Linked DNA regions of Homo sapiens: regions 1, 2, 3, 5, 6 and 7 are each linked to region 4. Evidence: promoter capture Hi-C in 16 types of primary human blood cells and fetal thymus (Javierre and others, 2016). All regions are on one chromosome and are shown on one strand. Each heading gives the region's core, a stretch centred on a gene start or on the middle of the fragment in contact. The rest is flanking DNA. Distances are from core to core; before and after follow the strand shown.

Region 1 (2,802 bases), core at 289-2,788, 290 kb after region 4:
GGGCCTCAACTGATCTGCCCGCCTCAGCCTCCCAGAGTGCTGGGGATTACAGGCATGAACCATCGTGCCCCACCCAAAGGGGAGATATCTAAGCTGCGTTCTCAAAGAGGACTTTGTGTCAGCCAGGTACAGAGTGTCAGAAGGGCACTCACGGCTGGGGAACAGAGATGCCCAGGTATAACATAAATCACACAGAAAAATGTTTGAGTTGGGGATGGGATGAGGCAAGAGGTGAGGCAGCAGAATAAAGCAAGAAGGTCCCCAAGGACTTCATACACCGGGCTCAGATTTGTGCATTATAATTTCTAAAAATGGCTTCAGATAAAACTGAACAATTCATTTCTCCCAAAGCATCTCAGCTGAAGCTCAGGCTTTATTTTGTAAAAAAGGTTTGTACATTTTGGAAGGCTGATTTCCTGGCAGATGGGACTAACGCGCTTCAGGAAGGTGTAGGTTTCTAGACACACGAAGTTACTTCCTGGACTAGCAGCAGGGCTAAGAGCCAGTGACTTGCAATATATACCCTAGGGGAAAGCAGGTGCCTGTCACCACCTAGATATGGCTTCAGGTGAAGATTTTTGTGTGTGTGTGTATTCAGCTCCCAACCTTGTTTGATCACTCAATGGAACAGGTAGCTGAATGTGACCACAGCTTATGATGGAACCTACTGACCTGGAAAGAAACCAGCATGCTGAACCACTACCTTATAAACCCTTGAGCACAACCTTCCTCCCTCAGTTTTTGCAACAATGACCCTACTTTACCCTCAGGGACTCTATTATCTCAAGTTTTCTCCAAACAACTCTACTTTCGTCTTTGTACCTTGTATTAATATTTTAGTTAACAGGACTTTTTCTCCAGACAAATTTGTATCTTACCTTACAGGGAAATAAAACATTTTACTTTTGGCACTAGAAAAAAATATGTAAATATATGTGTTTAAAAAAAAAAAAAGTGGGCCGGGCGTGGTGGCTCACGCCTGTAATCCCAGCACTTTGGGAGGCCAAGGCGGGCGGATCACAAGATCAGGAGATCGAGACCATCCTGGCTAACACGGTGAAACCCCGTTCCTACTAAAAAATACAAAAAATTAGCCGGGTGTGGTGGCAGGCGCCTGTAGTCCCAGCTACTCCAGAGGCCAAGGCGAGAATGGCGCGAACCCGGGAGATGGAGCTTGCAATGAGCCGAGATTGCGCCACTGCACTCCAGCCTGGGCGACAGAGTGAGACTCCATTTCAAAAAAAATAATTAAAAAAAAAAAAAGAAAGAACAAATTTTAAAAAGCAAGAAAACATCTTATAACCTTTAGTGTTGGCCTTGCTGCTAGAAAACGTAAGTCTAAACATATTGCTGTGGCCGGGTGCAGTGGCTCACCTGTAATCTCCGCACTTTGGGAGGCCGAGGCAGGCGGATTACCTGAGGGCGGGAGTTCCAGACCAGCCTGACCAATATGGTGAAACCCTATCTCTACTAAAAATAAAAAAAATTAGCCAGGCATGGTGGCATGCGCCTTAGTCCCAGCTATTTGTGAGGCTGAGGCAGGAGAATCACTTGAACCCAGGAGGTGGAGGCTGCAGTGAGCCAAGATCGCGCCACTGCACTCCAGCCTGGGCGACAGAGGGAGATTCCGTCCCAGAAAAAAAATAAATAAAATAAAAAACATATTGGTCACATGAAGCAACTTTTTAATTTTTTAATTGTTTATTTTTTTGAGATGGGGTCTTGCTCTGTTGCCTAGGCTGGAGTGCAGTGGTGCAATCATAGCTTACTGCAGCCTCCAACTCCTGGGCTCAAGTGATCCTCCCACTTCAGCCTCCTGAGTAACTGAGACTACAGATGTGCGCCCCCATGCCCAGCTAATTTTTGTATTTTTTGTAGTAATAGGGTCTCACTTTGCTGCCAGGCTGGTCTCAAACTCCTGAGCTCAAGCCATAGAGCTCAATATACCATCCATCCCTGCATAATTTCTTTATATACTTAGGTACTGCCTTCAAGTCCAGTTTCTTTCTAGAAAGCAGAGAAACGCAACCCTCTCCCCAGGGCATTGCTTTCTTCTACAGATATCCAGTAGAAAAGGCTTTCTGGGCTGGGCGTGGTGGGTCACACCTGTAAATCCGACCTTTGGGAGGCCAAGGCGGGCGGATCACTTGAGGTCAGGAGTTTGTGACCAGCCTGGCCAACATGATGAAACCCCATCTCTACCAAAAACACAAAAATTAGCTGGGTGTGGTGGCGTGTGCCTATAATCCCAGCTCTTCAGGAGGCTGAGGCAGGAGAATCGCTTGAACCCGGGCGGCGGAGGTTGCATGGCGCCACTACACTCCAGTCTGGGTGACACAATGAGACTCCGTCTCAAACAAACAAACAAACAAAAATGCTTTCTGGTGGGTGAGTGGGAGGAGGAGGTGATTATTCTTTTCCTGGGGGTCTGGACCATTAAGTTCCACAGTCATTAGGTTCCTCTTGCCGGCAGCCTTATTCCTTCTTTGCGCTTGCATTCCCAGACTCTACATTTACTCTACTAAGAAGTGTGGTTCTCTCCTTCCTCAGGCAGCTGCCTTTCTCCCCACTGAACTTCCTTCTGGGTGCTTGACCAGCCACATCTTCCACACATTTTCAGATGCTGTACTTTGGCAGTAGGTGAAACATCACCAGGACGCTACCCTGTGAGTTTTTTATGAAAAGAGGACACAAGGCTTTGGGGACTTACAGAGGGAGGGGAGCAAGGGTTGAGGAGTATCCTGCAATGGGGGAAGGGGATTTAAATTTCAGAAAGAAAATGTAGGCAGGGGAAACAGACAC
Region 2 (3,038 bases), core at 487-2,986, 410 kb after region 4:
CTACAAATCTTTCTGAATTTATTCTTTTCACCTCTACAGCCATCAAAACTAAGCATCAAATTGAAGTTTTAGAAACAGACCATTAAACTGCTTTATCATGATGGGTTAAACCGAGTTTTAAACTAGCAAAAGCATTTTTAGTTTTATGGCTCTCACTAAACATATTCTTAATTTTGGTGAAAAAGGGATCATGTACATATAACAGCACAAAAATTATATATACATATATATTGAAACGGAGTCTTGCTCTATCGCCCAGGCTGGAGTGCAATGGCATGATCTCAGCTCACTGCAACATCCGCCTCTCGGGTTCAAGTAATTCTCCTGCCTCAGCCTCCTGAGTAGCTGGGATTACAGGCCATACTTATTTTTTTTAATCTAGTTCCATGAAGTCCAGCTTCCTTTCTTTGGTTCCCTGCCTTCATTTTCTCCCTTCTCTCCCACAATCCACCTTTCAGATTATTCTTTCTAAAACTCTACAGCCTTGCAGTTAATACTTTCCAGTGCCTGGTCCCAATTTTCCCTCAAGCTTCTTTTCCCATCAATCCCCCCATAAACCTTCCCTATGCAACAAAAGCCCTCTCATCAGTATTTCCTATATATGCCTTGTATTTTGACTGCCATCCTTTCCTCACATCACACTCCATGCCTGGGACTTCCCCCCGCAGTCCTCTCTGCCTTTTCAAATCCTACTTAACCTTTAAAGCTAGCTAAAACGCGACTTGCCTCTTATCACTGTTCAAGAACCCTCTCATAACTATAACAGTAAGAGCCAATGTTTACTGAGTGCTTTCTAGGTACCGGGTATTTAAGCATTTTCACTTGACCACATAACAATCTTAGCAGGTAGCTACACTTATCATCTCACTGTATAAAGAACTGAGAGGCTGAGCGCAGCGGCTCATGCCTGTCATCCCAGCACTTTGGGAGGCCAAGGCAGATAGATAACCTGAGGTCAGGAGTTCGAGACCAGCCTGGATAACATGGCAAAACCCCATCTCTACTAAAAATACAAAAATTAGCCAGGTGTGGTGGTGCAATGCCTGTAGTCCCAGCTACTCGGGAGGCTGAGGCAGGAGAGTTGCTTCAACCTGGGAGGCGGAGGCTGCAGTGAGCTGAGATTACACCACTGCACTCCAGTCTGGGCAACAGAGTGAGACTCCATCTCAAAAAAAAACAAAAGAAGAACTGAGATATACTGCCATTAAATAACTTACTCAAGGTCACACAGCAAGTATATGGTAGAGGCAGAATTTGAAATAAAAGTGATTCCCCAATGTAAACTCTTTAACCATTATACAAAATTTATCTTGTACCTGACATGTGGGGTATACAGATCCTAAAATGAAGGCCTATGAACGTGACAATGAAGAATCAATCAGGGCCAGGCACGGTAGCTCACGCCTGTAATCCCAGCACTTTGGGATGCCAAGGAGGGTCGATCACCTGAGCTGAGGAGCTCGGGACCAGCCTGGCCAACATGACGAAACCCCGTCTCTACTAAAAATACAAAAATTAGCTGGATGTGTGGCACATACCTGTAATCTCAGCTACTCGGGAGGCTGAGGCAGGAGAATCACTTGAACCTGGGAGGTGGAGGGTGCAGTGAGCTGAGAACGCGCCACTGCACTCCAGCCTGGGTGACAGAGAGAGACTCCTTCTCAAAGAGAAAAAAAAATCACTCAGGAACGGGCCTTATCTACCACCCAGTTTTCACTGGAGGGTCACTATGTGACTGAAGCCCTTCCTGGGAAAGGGAGGAGACACAGCAGAAGATTCAAGTGGGGACTGTCTACAACATAACCAGGTGGGATCTTCAAACATGGTAACTGAGCAGAACTAGTGTGATAGCGAGCCCAGCCACCAGAAATCCCTACTTTTGTGAAAGTTTTATCCTGCCTTAGCTATTGAGCAGGACACTTCTTGGGTCAGTGCGAAGATGCGACTCTAAGGAGGAAATGAGTCCAGGGGGAAATAGACACAGACATGGGCACATTCCCTCTGCCCACAACTGGGACAGATCCTCCTCCTCACCTTCAGTATCTCTCTGCTCCTACTCTGGGGTGCAGGGAAAAGCCATCACAGCAGTGGAAAGGCTGGGTTTTATTTGAGGTTTCCCAGATGATCTGAGCACATACTCTTCTGTCTCTAAAGGCCCTAATACTCTTCACCAAACATTTGCTAGGTAATTTCTCATGATGCGCCGGGCGCAGTGGCTCATGCCTGTAATCCTAGCACTTTGGGAGGCTGAGGTGGGCGGATCACGAGGTGAGGAGATCGAGACCATCCTGGTAACACGATGAAACCCCGTCTCTACTAAAAATATAAAAAATTAGCTGGGTGTGGTGGCGGGCGCCTGTAGTCCCAGCTACTTGGGAGGCTGAGGCAGGAGAATGGCGTGAACCCGGGAGGCTGCGATTGCGCCACTGCACTCCAGCCTGGGTGACAGAGCGAGACTCTGTCTCAAAAAAAAAAAAAAAATTTCTCATGATGTTTCTTTCTCTGTAATTTTTCTTGCCTTCTTCCTCAACTAGATTATTAAGAGCAGTCCTCTTTGTACTCCTTAGACCACTTAGCATGATTCCTTGCAAGCCTCAGTTTCAAAAATACACTTGACTGAATTGACAACGTTACTATTTTTTAAAAGCCCGATCATTCTACATTCAATGTTGCACTCAAATTTGTTCCATGGACTAGTTGGATGAGTTTCAGGTTAGCATTAAAGCTGCTCCACCCCTTACTAGTTGACGGCCTTAGGCAAGTCAACAAGTTAACCTCTCTATGCGTCAGTTTCCTCATCTGTATAATGGGAATAAAAATCAGCATTTGTCCCATAGAGTTGCCGTGAGGATTAAATGAGGTAATAGATATAAAGCACTTAAAATAGTGCCTGGCATTTAGTAGGCACTACAGAAATGTCTTAATTTTTTTCAATAAGCTTAAAAGATGTAACTGTACATTCCAATTTTCAGCCTGCTTAGAAGATTAAGCAATGGGACAACTCCTGTAATAGTGAAAGCTGCACAGGCAATAACTGA
Region 3 (2,733 bases), core at 144-2,643, 260 kb after region 4:
TATTTATTTAGGAGGGAGTGTGGTTTCCTTAGAAGGTATAGTCTCTAGCCCTCTAAGGCTGGGGCTGGTGATCAGCCCCAACAGAGAAAATGAGGAGTTTAGAGTTGCAGCTGGGGAAGGGGTTTGAAGGAAGTTGGAAGTGGGGAGGGGTGGGGGCATCTGGTCTCAGAAATGGACCAGCTGGATGCAGGGCAGGGGACTGAGGGTGCTTGAGTAGGATGTGAGACTTCATGGGCCTGGGTTCTGTTGAGTTTTTTCAGTATCAATTTCTTAAACCAAATTTTAAAAAAAACAAGGTGGGGGGGTGCTCATCTCGTGACCTCTGCCACCCACATCCTTCACAAACTCCATGTTTCAGTGTTTGAGTCCATGTTTATTCTGCAAATAAATGGTAATGTATTGGACCCCATGTGTGGCTTCTGTGCTGTCACCATCAGTGCCTGAGCCCTGGCTCCTAGCAGAGGTCTCAGAGCCTCTGTGACTGGCTCATTTTCTGCCGGCTTTTCACTTCCCTTGGCACCTGTCCCCCAGGAGGCGGGCCTAGACAATAACCTCTGATCTCCAAATTGCCCACCCTCTGGGCCTCTGAGCATCTTCGTTTGTACAACAGGGAGAATTGTGGGGACCAAATAGAATCTGTGTGAAAAAGCACCTTGTCACCTGCAAAATGCTCTTTGAACATGAGGCTTTTTTTTTTTTTTTTTTGAGATAGAGTCTCGCTGTTGTCGCGAGGCTGGAGTGCAATGGCGCGATCTCAGTTCACTGCAACCTCCGCCTCCCCAGTTCAAATGATTCTCCTGCCTCAGCCTCCTGAGTAGCTGGGATTACAGGCGCCTGCCACCACAGTCAGCTAATTTTTGTATTTTTAGTAGAGACGGGGTTTCACCATGTTGGCCAGGCTGATCGCAAACTCCTGACCTCAAGCGATCCACCAGCCTTAGCCTCCCAAAGTGCTGGGATTACAGGCGTGAGCCACCGCACCCGGCCACGAAGCATTATTAAGGTGACCACACCACTGCCCCCTGCCTTCAGGATGGGAGGCCTTGTTCTCTGAGTGTCAGTCTCTGGCTACCTTGCCACGTCCTTGACAATGTCTGCTTTCAAATATCACTTTCTCCTTCCTTCCTTCTTTCTTTCCACCGCCTGAATGAATCTTTTGTTCTGCGGCAAGCCAAGAGAAAATGGTAGGATTGATTCCCAAGTGTGAAAGCGGGGGCGGAAGTGGTGTCTTCCAAGAGGAGTCTGGGTGCCCTGCCGAAGAGGGGAAGATGCAGCGAGGGAGAGACCTAGAACCGCGATCAAAGCTGCAGCAGCTGCTGGGGCTGGCGGCACAAAGGGAGGAGGGAGGAGCCTGGGCGCTGAGAAAGTTCTTGGGGAAAGTTGAGCTGAGCCAAGAGTCGGGCGGTGGCTGGGATGGGCGGGAGGGCCCGGCCCGATTTCCCTTGCTGCTCCCCTTGTGGCCTGGTGAGTGGGAAGTGAAACCAAGGATAGGACCAGTGGAGGGACCCTCTAATTTATGGGAGGAGACATGAGGGGTTCATGGAACCCCAGCGGGGGCAACTGGGCAGTCACCAAAGCTGGAGGGGACAGAGGGCTGGGATCTCCAATCATGGGAAGGGAGAGATGGATGGAAGGAAATGAAGAACTCTGGATAGGGGAGACGCGGCTAGACCCCAGGGGCTGTGATCAGGGAGGGAATTGGGGAGTGATGCCAGAGAGGGCAGGTCTCCGGGAGTAAAAGTGTGGCTTCTCTCTGCTTGGGGTTACCCCTGGCTCATCGGAGCAGGGAGCTGTCGGGGCTTGTTGGAGGGGCCGTGGTCCCTGATCGCGAGTTGTAATCTGAAGGGGCGGGGCTGGACTCCCGGTTGATTAGGAAGCTCGGGCTTCAGAAGGAACTCTGCAGTTAGTGTTTGCGCCTTTCTCCTTATCTTTGTGTCATAGTCTCTCTGTCCCTCTGTCTCTCTCTCTCTGTTTCTCTGTGTGTGTGTGTGTGTGTGTGTGTGTCTCTCTCTCTTTCTGTCTCCCTCTCCAGCCCCACCCTTTCAGTCTCCTCCGGGTGCACTGATAAGGTTGGAAAGTGGAATGGTGGGTAAGTCCAGGGATCTGGGCTTTATAAGTAGCCACACGTCTCCCCCAGCCCCTGTCATACATGGGGGTCTGCCCCGTGCTGAGACAGAGAAAAAAGAGGCGCGGGAATTTATAACCCAATGGCTCTTACCCATTGCAATGCCACTCCTGGAAGTCCAACCTCCCTTCCTCCTGCCTGGGTTCATACACCTGTGTCCTGTCTGATCCTCATTCCCACTGTATGGCTTCCCTTCCTGGTCCTGGGATAGGGCTCTTTATCCCCATCTGTGACAGCCAGAGGGGCTCTGGAGGAAACCAGGTTCCCGACCATGGTCTGACCTGACTGTGTTAATGAGCTGATTGATCTGATCTCTCTCTCTCTTGCTGGCTGTTTCATTCACGAGCTGGGGCTTTTTCTCTCCTTCCCTTATAAATCCCCAAGGCTCAGGGACAACTGTAGGTGGGGAGCGGGAGGAACTGGAGATAAGAAAGTGATAGAGCAGAGACAGTAGTTGTGGGGCCACCTAGGAGAGTCTGGGTATAGACAACATCCCCAGCCACTCCCCTTCCCTGAAGGAGGTCTCAGCTGCAGCAGGAGAGAAGGCTGCCTCTGCCTCTCTCCTTAGACTTCCCTTCTTCCCCCCTCATTTCCCTTCTAGACGCTGA
Region 4 (3,084 bases), core at 312-2,811:
GCCTGGGGACCACTGGAGGAGGTGGCCGCGGCCCCGGGGCTTTCCCGACCGACCGCAGCGGCTGGGGACCCCGCAGATGGCGCGCAACGACCCGGACCACGCTCCGTCCCGCCGCGGAGCTCCCCAGAGGCGGCCTCTTGGTGCGGTGGCACCGTGGGGCCGCCCCCTCCGCCCGACTCATCTTTGAGCGGCGGCGGCGGGGCCGGCACCAGAAACGGCTCCTTCTCCGCCGCCATCTCGATCATTTCCTCCCCTTATTCCGTGCCAGTCGGGGTAACGAGGGGGATCAGGGGGCCTAACCCCCCCTGCCTGGACCCTGCTCCCTTCCCCCCTTTCCCGAGTGCGCGCGCAGCTCTGCTCTTCACGCCTAGTCTCGCGCCCAAGCGCCTCCCCGCCAAGTGCGCCCTACTAGCCCGCGAGACCAAAACAAGAGGCCCGCGAGACCCGAACTACTCGAGGACTCAACCGCGCGTGCGCCGACCCCTTTCTCCTCCGCCACTACCACCCGGCCGCGAGCGCGCACGGTGAGCGCGCGTTCCCTTCGCCCGGGAACCACGCATGCGCACTCCGCCACCACCCTGGTTGCGCGCGCATCAGACTACGAACCAACTTAACGGCTCTGGGAGTTTAAATATAACCCCCCCACAGCCCCCGCAAAAGCCCACCACCCCAAACTGACACCCTACTTCCCTGCGCAGCTATGTCCGGCCCTACTGATCTCCTTTGTCTCTGCCGCGCGATCCCACCCACCGTAGGCGGGGGACGGGAGCTGGTGTGAAAAGGTCTCCTTGACACCCGACCCTTGTTCCTGAGGAATGAGTCTCAGCGGTCTCCGCCCGGCTCTAAATCCAACAACCTCCCCACCCCGCCTCCTTCCTCCCCCCTAGTGGGCAGCGCCTGCGCACACCCTTTTGGGCTTGCGCGGGTAGAGGCAGCACGTGCTGAAACTGGCGCCCCGCCCCCCGTCTTAGGGGTTGGGCCTGTGACGTCGCTTCCTTAAGTTTGGTAAACGCAGCGTGCGTCAGCGCGATCCGGAGGGGCGGGGCTTCCTGACGAAGGGCGGGGCTCATGAATTATTCATGAGCTGTTGGTAGCAAACCTCCCCCCCTCTGCCCACCTTCTTAGAAGCGCTTCCGAGGGAGCGGAGGGGAGACCCTACAAAGCCAAGGAAGGGCGGGAGTGGAACTGGGCTCAGTAAAACGCGATAGGTCATTATAACTCACCCCCCTTGAAAATATTCTCTGCTGAATTGGGGAAAAATAAAAAGCACTAAAACAGCCGATGTTGTCCAACTTCCTCTTCCCCCGAAACGGCTGAGTCGTTCTCTGGCTCCTCTACCTTCCCCCAATCGCAATCACCTGGAGACGCCACACCACGCCTTCCTCTCCGCCTCAACACCCACGACCCGAACCCCAACGCATCCGCCCACTCCCGACGCCCGCTCACTGGCCCGTCAGTTCGCGGGCCTCTCAACACCCACCGCGGCGCCACGCCGACTTATATACCAGCGAGTGTGGGCGGGGACGGGGGTTCGGTCCGCGCTGGGCCCCCCCAGCTTCTGCCAATGAGGAAGAAGCGAGTCTACGCCGTTTTCCCGGGGAGATGCGCCGCCCGGTCTCCCTGCCAGCGGAGTGCTGGGCCGAGGACAGGGCGGCAGGGGTGACAGTGGGGTCCAGGAGAGTCTCAAAATCCTAAGGTGAGGGCGTGAAGGAGACCAGCAGGAAGAGGAGGAATTAGAGAACGGAAAGAGGGAGGAAAAGGCAGTCTGAAACAGAAAAGTTAGTAGATGTGCTTCAGGAACAATCAGGCGCCGCGGCCGCCGCCTAAAAATATGTGACACCAAAGAGGATTCTGGGATTTGTAGTTTTCCCGGGACGTTCGGGTGGAAGATGGCGGATTTACCTCAGCTGCGGAAACGCAGACGCTGTTTCCAGTTGCGCATGCGCCTCGGCCCCGCGAGCGCACCGCCCTCGGGTGGAGCTAGTGCTCAGGGCGTCCTCGTGCCTTTTCTTGGTGGCGGGAAACCTGGGTTGAGGTGTGAGGGGCTTGCGGAGTCGCTGCGGCAGCTGGTTCCGCCCATCGCCTTTAGGTCCTCCTTGCTCCTGAAGGTAGCCAGCTAGTTTCTGGTTGTAGGTGAAGGTGCTAGGCGCTGCCAGTCCTGGCACCCGTTGCCTGAGGAGAAACTTTCTCAGGGCGACAACCAGCCCTTCGCCCTTTTTCCTCAGAATCTGTCGCCCCCAAGAAACAGACAAAAAAAAAATAGCCCAGTCTCCTGGCGGGCACCAACGATATGAGTGAGAATAAGGATCACGGGGCCTCGGCAGGAGTGGGGGTGGAGGGGAGATTCCCTCATGGTGGGAGGAAGGAAGGGAGGGGACGGGGAAGAGAGAGGGGGACGTGTGGCTCAGGGACACCGACTTGAACCGCTATCCCTGAGAGAGAATAAGGGGTGAGGGAAGAGAGGAAAAATGGGAGCGCCCCACAAATGGGAAGAACTTCTCTGCAAAACTTCTTCCCTTTGGATTGCAGGTGGATTTGGAATTGGGGCTTTTTTTTTTTTTTTTTTAAAGACTGTCTCGCTCTGTCGCCCAGGCTGGAGTGCAGTGGCGCAGTCTCGGCTCACTGCAACCCCCACCTCCTGGGTTCAAGCGATTCCCCTGCCTCAGCCTCCCGAGGAGCTGGGACTACAGGCGCCCGCCACTGTGCCCGGCTAATTTTGTATTTTTAGTAGAGACGGGGTTTCTCCATGTTGGCCAGGCTGGTCTCGAACTCCTGACCTTAGGTGATCCGCCCACCTTGGCCTCCCAAAATGCTGGGATTACAGGCACGCGCCACCGTGCTCGGCTGATTTTTTTGTATTTTTAGTAGAGACGGGGTTTCACCGTATTGGCCAGGCTGGTCCCGAACTCCTGACTTAAGGTGATCCACCCGCCTCTTCTTTCTTGTTAAAAGTTTTAAATCGGGCTTGCTGAGCTTGTGCACAAACACGAAGGAAGAAAGCAAGGGAGGGAAGGGGGAGGAAGGAAGGAGGGAGGGAAGGGGGAGGAAGGAAGGAGGGAGGGAAGGGGGAGGAAGGAAGGAGGG
Region 5 (3,056 bases), core at 332-2,831, 320 kb after region 4:
CCTGAGGACAGTAGTGAGACTGCTATCTCTACAAAAAAAATTAACCAAAACAAAATTAGCCAGGCATGGTGGTGCACACCTGTGGCCCCAGCTACCTGGGAGGCTGAGATGGGAGAATTGCTTGAGCCCGGGAGATTGATGCTGCAGTTAGCCATGATTGTGTCCCTGCACACCAGCCTGGGTGACAGAGCAAGACTTTATCTCAAGCAGACAAACAAAACCAGAATCAGCTGTCCCGCCCTTTCTCCCTTAGGTCCATGAGCTGATTCCAGCTGTGATGACCTGCATCGTGAGCAGACAGTTGTGCCTGCGACCAGATGTGGACAATCACTGGGCACTCCGAGACTTTGCTGCCCGCCTGGTGGCCCAGATCTGCAAGCATTTTAGCACAACCACTAACAACATCCAGTCCCGGATCACCAAGACCTTCACCAAGGTGAGCCAGGAAAACTTGAGCGTCATTTGCTTCATCACTGGCCACCTCTGGTTGGGGGAAGTCACACTGGAAACAAGGGGGCAGAGGGAAGAGGGACTGGAACTTGTGGGGGTCTAAGGGTCTTGAGGCTTGTCTGTAATACCTTTTTTTTTTTTTTTTGAGATGGAGTCTCGCTCTTGCCCAGGCTGGAGTGCAGTGGTGCAATCTCTGCTGACCGCACCCTCTGCCTCCTGGGTTCAAGCGATTCTTCTCCCTCAGACTCTTGAGTACTTGGGATTACAGGCACCTGCCACCACAACTGGCTAATTTTTTTGTTTTTGTTTTTTTGAGATGGAGTTTCGCTCTTCTTGCCCAGGCTGGAGTGCAATGGTGCAATCTTGGCTTACCACAACCTCCGCCTCCTGGGTTCCAATGATTCTCCTGCCTCAGCCTCCCGAGTAGCTGGGATTACAGGCATGTGCCGCCACACCCAGCTAATTTTGTGTTTTTAGTAGAGACGGGGTTTCTCCATGTTGGTCAGGCTGCTCTAGAACTCCCGACCTCAGGTGATCTGCCTGCCTTGGCCTCCCAAAGTGCTGGGATTACGGGTATGAGCCACTGCACCTGGCCACAACTGGCTAATTTTTGTATTTTTAGTAGAGACAGAGTTTCACCATGTTGACTAGGGTGGTCTGGAACTCCTGACCTCAGGTGATCTGCCTGCCTCGGCCTCCCAAAGTGCTGGGATTACAGGTGTGAGCCACCACGTCTGGCCTCATTGTAATGTCTTAATGATTTACAAGGAAAGTGTCTATGAAAGACTTAGGTCCCTGTCAATCATCCTTTCAGACCCCTTCATCTTAGTTTATTTCCTTCCCCTTACAGAGCTGGGTGGACGAGAAGACGCCCTGGACGACTCGTTATGGCTCCATCGCAGGCTTGGCTGAGCTGGGACACGATGTTAGGCCTCTGGGAGGAAGAAATGGGGGAGGGGACACAGTCATGAGGTTATAGAGGGCACTGTACCCCCATCTGGGAGACCCTGGTGACCCTCCGGCTTTTGCTTGTCCTTTTCCCTTCTAACAGGTTATCAAGACTCTGATTCTGCCCCGGCTGCAGCAGGAAGGGGAGCGGATCCGCAGTGTGCTGGACGGCCCTGTGCTGAGCAACATTGACCGGATTGGAGCAGACCATGTGCAGAGCCTCCTGCTGGTGACTGAAGCCCCTGTCCCCACACCTGCCCACTGAGACACAGGCAGTGTTTAGCAAGCATATGGCATATTTTATTCACTTACTCCCATCTTTGCCTCATGTTTTCAGAGGACATTGCAGAGTCTGATACTATTTTACAGATGGAAAGACTGAGATTAGACTGAGTAAGAAATAAGGGGGCTGGGCATGATGGCTTCTGCCTGTAATCCCAGCACTCTGGGAGCCTAGGAGTATGAGGCCAGCCTGGACAACGTAGCGAGATCCCACCTGCAAAAAAAAAAACCAAAAAGCCGGGAGTGGTGACGTGTCTGTGGTCCCAGCTACTAGGGAGGCCGAGGTGGGAGGATTGCTTGAACCCAGGAGTTCAAGGCTACAGAGAGCTATGATCGTGCCACTGCACTCCAGCCTGGGTTACAGAGGGAGACCACCGCCCCCCAAAAAAGAAGGGTTTAACACGCTCAGCCTGTGGCATTTGGACCATCCTTCCCCAATGCTCCTGTTACTCTGTGGTCTTCTCTGTACAAGGCAAATGCGCTCTTGATTAACCATCCTGCCACAGTATTTAGCAAGTTCATTCACACATTAGTGCCCATGTTTTCTTTTTCTTTTCTTTTTTTTTTTTTGAGATGGAGTCTCACTCTGTAACCCAGGCTGGAGTGCAGTGGTGCGATCTCAGGCTCACTGCAACCTCTGCCTCTCAGGTTCAAGCAATTCTCATGCCTCAGCCTCCCAAGTAGCTGGGACCACAGGCACGCGCCACCATGCCTGGCTAATTTTTTGTATTTTTAGTAGAGACGGGGTTTCACCATATTGGCCAGGCTGGTCTTGAGCTCCTGACCTCAGGTGATCTGCCAGCCTCAGCCTCCCAAAGTGCTGGGATTACAGGCATGAACCACCACACCCAGCCATTCTTTTTTTTTTTTTTCTGAGACAGTCTCACTCTGTCACCCAAGCGGGAGTGCACTGATGCAACCTCTGCTCACTGCAGCCTCCACCACCTGGGTTCAAGCATTCTAGTACCTCAACCTCCCCAGTAGCTGGGACTACAGGTGCGTGCCACCATGCCTGGCTAGTTTTTGTATTTTTAGTGGAGATGAGGTTTCTCCATTTTGGCCAGGCTCTTGACCTCAAGTGATCCACCCACCTCAGCCTCCCAAGTGCTGGGATACAGGCCTAAGATGCTGCACCTGGCCCCGTGCCCATCTTTTCTTATGAGAAAGCCCACAGTGTTCTGTACACACACTAATAGTTCAGCATAATTTGGCCTTCAACAGGGGCACTGAGATGATAAGGAATGTCCTTTTTTACCCCATCCCCAAGGTTCTTCTCAAGAGTGTCACCAGCCCTCCCTCTACCTGGCTTTTTTCCCCAGCCCTCCCTCTACCTGGCTTTTTTTCTGTTCTGCAGAAACACTGTGCTCCTGTTCTGG
Region 6 (2,898 bases), core at 337-2,836, 340 kb after region 4:
CTTGCATGCTTTCTTCCCTTAAATACTGAGTTCCTGGCCAGGCACAGTGGCTTATGCTTGTAATCTCAGCACTTTGGGAGGCCGAGGTGGGTGAATCACCTGAAGTCAGGAGTTCAAGACCAGCCTGGTCTCGACCAGTAGAGATGGTGAAACCCCATCTCTACTAAAAATACAAAAATTAGCCAGGCGTGGTGGTGCATGCCTGTAATCCCAGCTACTCGAGAGGCTGAGGGAGGAGAATCACTTGAACCCGGGAGGCGGAGGTTGCAGCGAGCCGAGATCACACCACCACACTCCAGCCTGGTTGACAAAGCAAGACTCTGTCTCATAAAAAAACCCAAAATTCACATCTGGCTAGCCTAGGCTGCTCCACCCCCTCCTTACCCCTAAACCTAAGCAAGTTGCACACACTGCTCCTCCTGCCACCCCTACAAAGAGGGGTACAGACACCTAGAAAGAGCCAGACATACTCTGGCTCTAGGTGTCTGTATCCCCACCCAAAGTGTAAGCTCCTAGAAAGCAGGTGAAGAACTGTGTTATGACCCTGAACAGCCCCATATGGTGATAGTTGTAATTTACAGGGGAATTATGCAATCTCTCCGTTTAGGAGCCTGGATGAAGGAAACTTGAAGGGGCCAGCAACCCTCAATGGAACGGACTTGAGAAATCCTGCAGGAAGAGGGGTCTTCTCGCCAAAGGGAAGTTAAAAAGGAATTTATTTTATTCTAGTCCCCAGTGATAAACCAACCAGGTCTGGACAAACTGAGAGGGTTGTCAAAGAAAAGTACCTAATGCCTTGTTTCTATTTGGAAAAACCAGGTCAGAAAAATGTATCTCTTTGGTGAGATGTTGGCTCACTGCAACCTCCACCTCCTGGGTTCAAGTGATTCTTGTGCCTCAGCCTCCCAAGTAGCTGAGATATCAGGCTTGCGCCACCACACCTGGCTCATTTTTGTATTTTTAGTAGAGATGGGTTTTCAGCATGTTGGCTAGTCAGTTCTCAGACTCCTGGCCTCAACCGATCCACCTGCCTCGGCCTCCTAAAGTGCTAGGATTACAGGTGTGAGCCACCGTGCCTGGCCAGAAAAATGTCTCTCTTTAAAGAATGCTAGGCAGCTTCCAAGGAGCATAGTGCTTCTCAGCTAGATAGAAGGCTAAAATAAAAACAAGATGAGAATTATTCTAGGGTTAGTAAAGTTGATCGTTTGCACTGCTCTCTCACACATTAAAGAACTCCTTTGCCTTGTTGTTTCAGGTGCTTTTGAAACATTGTTCAGATAATTATACAGCTCATAAAACAAGAGATTATTGTGGAATTTAAGGATGACTTTGACATTGAATCAGTTGATTGTGCGCATTTTAGAACTAAGTTTGCTAAACGTTTCTTTTTTTTTGTTTTTGTTTTGTTTTGTGTTTGTTATTGTTGTTTTTGAGACAGAGTCTTGCTCTGTCACCCAGGCTGGAGTGCAGTGTTACAATCACAATTCAGTGCAGCCTCAACCTCCTGAACTCAAGTGACTGTCCCATCTCAGCCTCCCAAGTAGCTGGGACTGCAAATGCGTGCCACCACGCCAGGCTAAATTTTGTATTTTTTGTAGAGATAGAGTTTCGCCATATTTGTTTGTCTCAAAACAAACAAACAAACAAACCAAAAAAATATCCCCACCCCAAAAACAAAAACGAACAAAAAGCAAGTGCTCCTTTTTGGTATGGGTCAGTGGTTATCTATTCACCTATCAGTCATTAATTTAACAAATATTTGGGAGTGCCTACCAGGCAGCAGGTACATCACTAAACAAAACGAAGTCCTGACCTCATGGAGCTTATACCCTAGTTGTAGGAAACAGACCATAAACATACTTCAGGATACGTATATATATACAGAGATGGAGTATCCCTCTGTCGCTCCCAGGCTGGAGTGCAGTGGTGCGATCTCGGCTCACTGCAACCTCCACCTCCCAGGTTCAAGCCATTCTGCCACCTCAGTCTCCCAAGTAGCTGGGATTACAGGTGCCTGCCACCACTCCCGGCTAATTTTTGTTTTTGTATTTTTAGTAGAGGCAGGGTTTCACCATGTTGGCCAGGCTGGTCTCAAACTCCTGACCTCAGGTGATCTATCTGCCTCGGCCTCCCAAAGTGCTGGGATTACAGGCGTGAAGCACTGCACCCGGCCAACAAATTGAATTTTAAAGATTGAGTTGGCTTTATTAGGGATTCATGAACTGGCAGCACCCAGTCTACAAAACAGAAAGGAAGCCAGGTGTGATGGTGCGTGCCTGTGGTCCCAGCTACTCTGGAAGCTGAGGAGGGAGGATCGCCTGAGTCCAGGAGGTTGAGGCTGTAGTGAGGTAGGATCGCGCCACTGCACTCCAGCCTGGGTGACAGAGTGAGACCCTGTCTCTAAAAAAAAAAAAAAAAAAAAGACTTCATATGTTGAAGAAGGCAGAGGAAAGCATGAACATGATGAGGTGCTTTCCTTCTATTGATGGCTATTGTGATACCTCATTTCTTATCTTCTTAGTTTAAAAGGATTTAAGGCTGGGTGCAGTGGCTCACACCTGTAATCCCAACACTTTGGGAGGCTGAGGTGGGCGGATCCCTTGAGCTCAGGAGTTTGAGACCAGTCTGGGCAACATGGTGAAAACCCTCTGTCTCTACAAAAAAGTAGCCGGGCGTGGTGGCATGCATCTGGGGTTCCAGCTACTTGGGAGGCTGAGGTGGGAGGATCACTTGACCTTGTGAGGTGGAGGTTGCAGTGAGCCGAAATCACAACACTGCACTCCAGCCTGGGTGACAGAGTAAGACCCCCGTCTCAAAAGAAAAAAAAAATTTAAACAAGAAACACACAGGAGGCCGGGCGCGGTGGCTCACACCTGTAACCCCAGCACTTTGGGAGAT
Region 7 (3,098 bases), core at 223-2,722, 410 kb before region 4:
AAGTAGCTGGGACTACAGGCGCGTACCACCACACCCAGCTAATTTTTGTATTTTTAGTAGAGACGGGGTTTCACCATGTTGGCCAGGATGGTCTCGATCTCTTGACCTCGGGATCTGCCCACCTCGGCTTCCCAAAGTGCTGGGATTACAGGCATGAGCGACCGCGCCCGGCATTTTTTTTTTTTTTAAAGACAGAGCCTCGCTTTGTTGCCCCGGCTGGAGTGCAGTGGAACCATCTCAGCTCACTGCAACCTCTACCTCCCAGGTTCAAGCGATTCTCCTGCCTCAGCCTCCCAAGTAGCTGGATAACAGGCACGCACCACCATGCCCAGCTAATTTTTGTGTTTTTAGTAGAGACTGGGTTTCACCATGTTGGCCAGGCCGGTCTCAAACTCCTGACCTCAGGTGATCCACTTGCCTTGGCCTCCCAAAGTGCTGGGATTACAGGCGTGAGCCACTGCACCCGGCCAATCACACTCTTTTGTTTGTTTATTTTAATTTTTTTTGTTGAAACGGGGTCTCACTCTGTTGCCCAGGCTGCAGTGCAGTGGTGTGATCACGGCGGCTCACTGCAGCCTCCACCTCCTGGGGTCAAGCAATCCTCCTGTCTCAGCCTCCTGTATAGTTGGGATTACAGGCGTGAGCCACTGTGCCCAGCCCATTATTTTTATTTTTGAGACAGGGTCTTGCTCTGTTGCCCAGACTGGAATGCAGTGGTGCAATCTCACTACAACCTCTGCCTCCTGGGCTCGGGTGATCCTCTCACCTCAGCCCCCCGAACAGCTGGGACCACAGGCGTGCTCCACCACGCCTGGCTAATTTTTGTAGAGATGAGGATTCATCATGTTGCCCAGGCTGGTCTTGTACTCCTGGTCTCAAGTGATCTGCCAGCTGCGTCCTCCCAAATGCTGGGATTCTAGGTGTGAGCCACCGCACCCAACCCTTATCTCCTGAATCCTCCCCGGCTCCATACATGCGTGCACCATCCCCCCCAACACACACACACTCACACATACACGCCTATCTGGGTTCAAACCCACATAGTCACTTGGATGCTGCACTGGTTTCCCCGCCTTCAGTCTTCATTCCTTTCAGTCTATTCTCCAAAATTGTATAAGTGGGATCTTTCTCTACAAACCATGCAATGTTGCTTCTTGGCCTAAAACCCTTCACTAGCTCCCCAGAGCAGTCCTGCAAAAACCCGTAATGACCTGAGGCTGGCCCTCACTCACCTCTCCAGTTCACCCATGGTCACTGTCCTTGCCCTCTCTGACCTGGCGTTGTGAACTCTGGCAGCTCTCTGAATGGGGCGACCTCACAACTCTGCCTTTAAACTCCTTTCCTGCCAATCTCTAGGACTCATTCAGACATCATCACCTTCTGCAGAAAGCTCACCTGAAACCTGCATCGGCTGTGCTTCCTGCGTGATCCTGTAGGGTCCTCTGTGCACCACAAGTTAGGCTGTGCGCTTAGCCACCTGGATGCTGGTGAGGCCCCGTGGCTGTTTCTACCCCTGACTTGTCTAATCCTGGAAGGTAGAAAATGACTTGGTGTCCTCCATTTTCAATTTTTCCTTCTTTCTTTTTTTTTTTTTTTTTTTTTTTTTTTTTGAGACAGAGTCTCGCTCTGTACCTGAGGCTGGAGTGCAGTGGCGTGATCTGGGTTCACTGCAAGCTCCGCCTCCCGGGTTCCCGCCATTCTCCTGCCTCAGCCTCCCAAGTAGCTGGGACTACAGGTGCCCACCACCACACCCGGCTAATTTTTGTATTTTTAGTAGAGATGGGGTTTCACCATGTTAGCCAGGATTGTCTCGATCTCCTGACTTCGTGATCCGCCCACCTCAGCCTCCCAAAGTGCTGGGATTATAGGTGTGAGCCACCACACCCAGCTATTTTTTCTTTAGAGCTGGGGTCTCACTATGTTGCCCAGGCTGGCCTGGAACTCCTGGGCTCAAGTGATCCTCCCACCTCGGCCTCCCAAAGTGCTGGGATTACAGGCATGAGCCACCATACCTTGTCTGTTTTTTTTTGTTTTGTTTTGTTTTTTTGCTTTTTGTTTTGTTTTGCTTTGCTTTGAGACAGAGTCTCGCTCTGTCACCCAGCCTGGAGTGCAGTGGTACAATCTTGGCTCACTGCAACCTCTGCCTCCTGGATTCAAGCAATTCTCGTGCCTCAGCCTCCTGAGTAGCTGGGATTACAGGCGTGTGCCACTGTAACTGGCTAATTTTTCTATTTTTAGTAGAGACGGGCCAGGCAGGTCTTGAACTCCCAACCTCAGGTGATCCACCCGCCTCGGCCTCCCAAAGTGCTAAGATTACAGGTGTGAGCCACTGCGCCCAGCCTTTTTTTCAACTTTTTTTTTGGCCTCACACAGTGCTAGAATTAGGTAGGAGTTTGAGACCAGCCTGGACAACATAGCAAGACCTCATGTCTACAAAAAATAAAAATAAAATAAAATAAATTAGCCAGGCCAGGTGCAGTGGATCACACCTGTAATCATAGGACTTTGGGAGGCTGAGGCTAGACAATCACTTGAGCTCAAGAGTTCAAGACCAGCCTGCGCAACATAGTGAGACCCTGTCTGTACAAACACTAAAAATATTAGCTAGGCATGGTGGCACACGCCTGTAGTCTCAGCTACTTGGGAGGCTGAGGCAGGAGGATCGCTTGAGCCTGGGAGTTCGAGGCTGCAGTGAGCCTCGATCGTGCCACTGCACTCCAGCATGGGTGACAAAGGGAGACCCTGTCTCTTAAAAAAAGAAAAAAAAAGGTATAAAATCTTTGGATTGAGAGAAGAAATCACAGCTGACCTCAAATGTTTAAAATATGACAAATATCATAAATATTATACAAGCTAGAAAAATAACAACATTTATAGTAAAGAAGACTGATATAGCCCTGGAATACTTGCATTTACTACCTTTTTCTTAGATGTGTACTCTTTGACCATCTCTTCATATGATGATTTTGTAATATTATTTTCTATTCTTTCTCTGTCTTTCCTCTAGGATGGCTGATTAATTTTTGCTTAGAGATGGGGTCTCGCTCTGTTGCCCAGGTTGGAGTGCAGTGGTGCCATCACGGCTCCCTGCAGCCTAG

The links. Contacts are between HindIII fragments. The CHiCAGO score rates a contact against its expected background, and 5 or more counts as called.
Region 1: a contact is called between a fragment that was not itself captured here and the fragment with the promoter of ZCWPW1 in region 4, in 1 of 17 cell types (activated CD4 T cells). The highest score is 5.6, in activated CD4 T cells.
Region 2: a fragment that was not itself captured here is called in contact with the fragment with the promoter of ZCWPW1 in region 4 in 2 of 17 cell types (total B cells and neutrophils); the score reaches 5.5 in total B cells.
Region 3: the fragment with the promoter of GAL3ST4 here is called in contact with the fragment with the promoter of ZCWPW1 in region 4 in 2 of 17 cell types (neutrophils and total B cells); the score reaches 5.4 in neutrophils.
Region 5: a fragment that was not itself captured here is called in contact with the fragment with the promoter of ZCWPW1 in region 4 in 1 of 17 cell types (total B cells); the score reaches 5.7 in total B cells.
Region 6: a fragment that was not itself captured here is called in contact with the fragment with the promoter of ZCWPW1 in region 4 in 4 of 17 cell types (total B cells, naive B cells, non-activated CD4 T cells and 1 more); the score reaches 7.3 in total B cells.
Region 7: a contact is called between a fragment that was not itself captured here and the fragment with the promoter of ZCWPW1 in region 4, in 1 of 17 cell types (endothelial precursors). The highest score is 5.7, in endothelial precursors.

The regions. Positions count from the first base shown.
Region 1 is chr7:100,135,825-100,138,626 of GRCh38, reverse strand. No RefSeq gene overlaps it. Among named protein-coding and RNA genes, the nearest start is that of MBLAC1, 10 kb to the right of the region's middle. RefSeq lists an enhancer at 736-795. The HindIII fragment of the contact is 6,909 bases long and covers 1-2,802 here.
Region 2 is chr7:100,017,850-100,020,887 of GRCh38, reverse strand. All of the region lies in intron 1 of ZKSCAN1 (zinc finger with KRAB and SCAN domains 1), which reads right to left. Among named protein-coding and RNA genes, the nearest start is that of ZKSCAN1, 3.8 kb to the right of the region's middle. The HindIII fragment of the contact is 2,409 bases long and covers 532-2,940 here.
Region 3 is chr7:100,167,277-100,170,009 of GRCh38, reverse strand. GAL3ST4 (galactose-3-O-sulfotransferase 4) reads left to right here and starts at 1,393. Exons shown (of 4, transcript NM_024637.5): 1 at 1,393-1,464; 2 at 2,727-2,733. GPC2 (glypican 2) reads left to right here. Exons shown (of 10, transcript NM_152742.3): 10 at 1-404. The HindIII fragment of the contact is 24,826 bases long and covers 1-2,733 here.
Region 4 is chr7:100,427,180-100,430,263 of GRCh38, reverse strand. It overlaps ZCWPW1 (zinc finger CW-type and PWWP domain containing 1), which reads left to right and starts at 1,561. Exons shown (of 18, transcript NM_001386010.1): 1 at 1,561-1,696. It overlaps MEPCE (methylphosphate capping enzyme), which reads right to left and starts at 433. Exons shown (of 4, transcript NM_019606.6): 1 at 1-433. The coding sequence starts at 245. RefSeq lists silencers at 1-213, 2,034-2,083 and enhancers at 484-623, 1,644-1,873. The HindIII fragment of the contact is 9,299 bases long and covers 1-3,084 here.
Region 5 is chr7:100,108,519-100,111,574 of GRCh38, reverse strand. It overlaps AP4M1 (adaptor related protein complex 4 subunit mu 1), which reads right to left. Exons shown (of 15, transcript NM_004722.4): 15 at 2,536-3,056. It overlaps TAF6 (TATA-box binding protein associated factor 6), which reads left to right. Exons shown (of 15, transcript NM_139315.3): 10 at 254-436; 11 at 1,301-1,375; 12 at 1,502-1,627; 13 at 3,035-3,056. Among named protein-coding and RNA genes, the nearest start is that of AP4M1, 8.4 kb to the right of the region's middle. RefSeq lists a silencer at 722-949. The HindIII fragment of the contact is 8,380 bases long and covers 1-3,056 here.
Region 6 is chr7:100,083,399-100,086,296 of GRCh38, reverse strand. No RefSeq gene overlaps it. Among named protein-coding and RNA genes, the nearest start is that of ZNF3, 3.1 kb to the right of the region's middle. The HindIII fragment of the contact is 4,834 bases long and covers 1-2,898 here.
Region 7 is chr7:100,832,445-100,835,542 of GRCh38, reverse strand. It overlaps a transcript of SLC12A9 not described here. Among named protein-coding and RNA genes, the nearest start is that of EPHB4, 6.5 kb to the right of the region's middle. RefSeq lists an enhancer at 1-266. The HindIII fragment of the contact is 4,427 bases long and covers 1-3,098 here.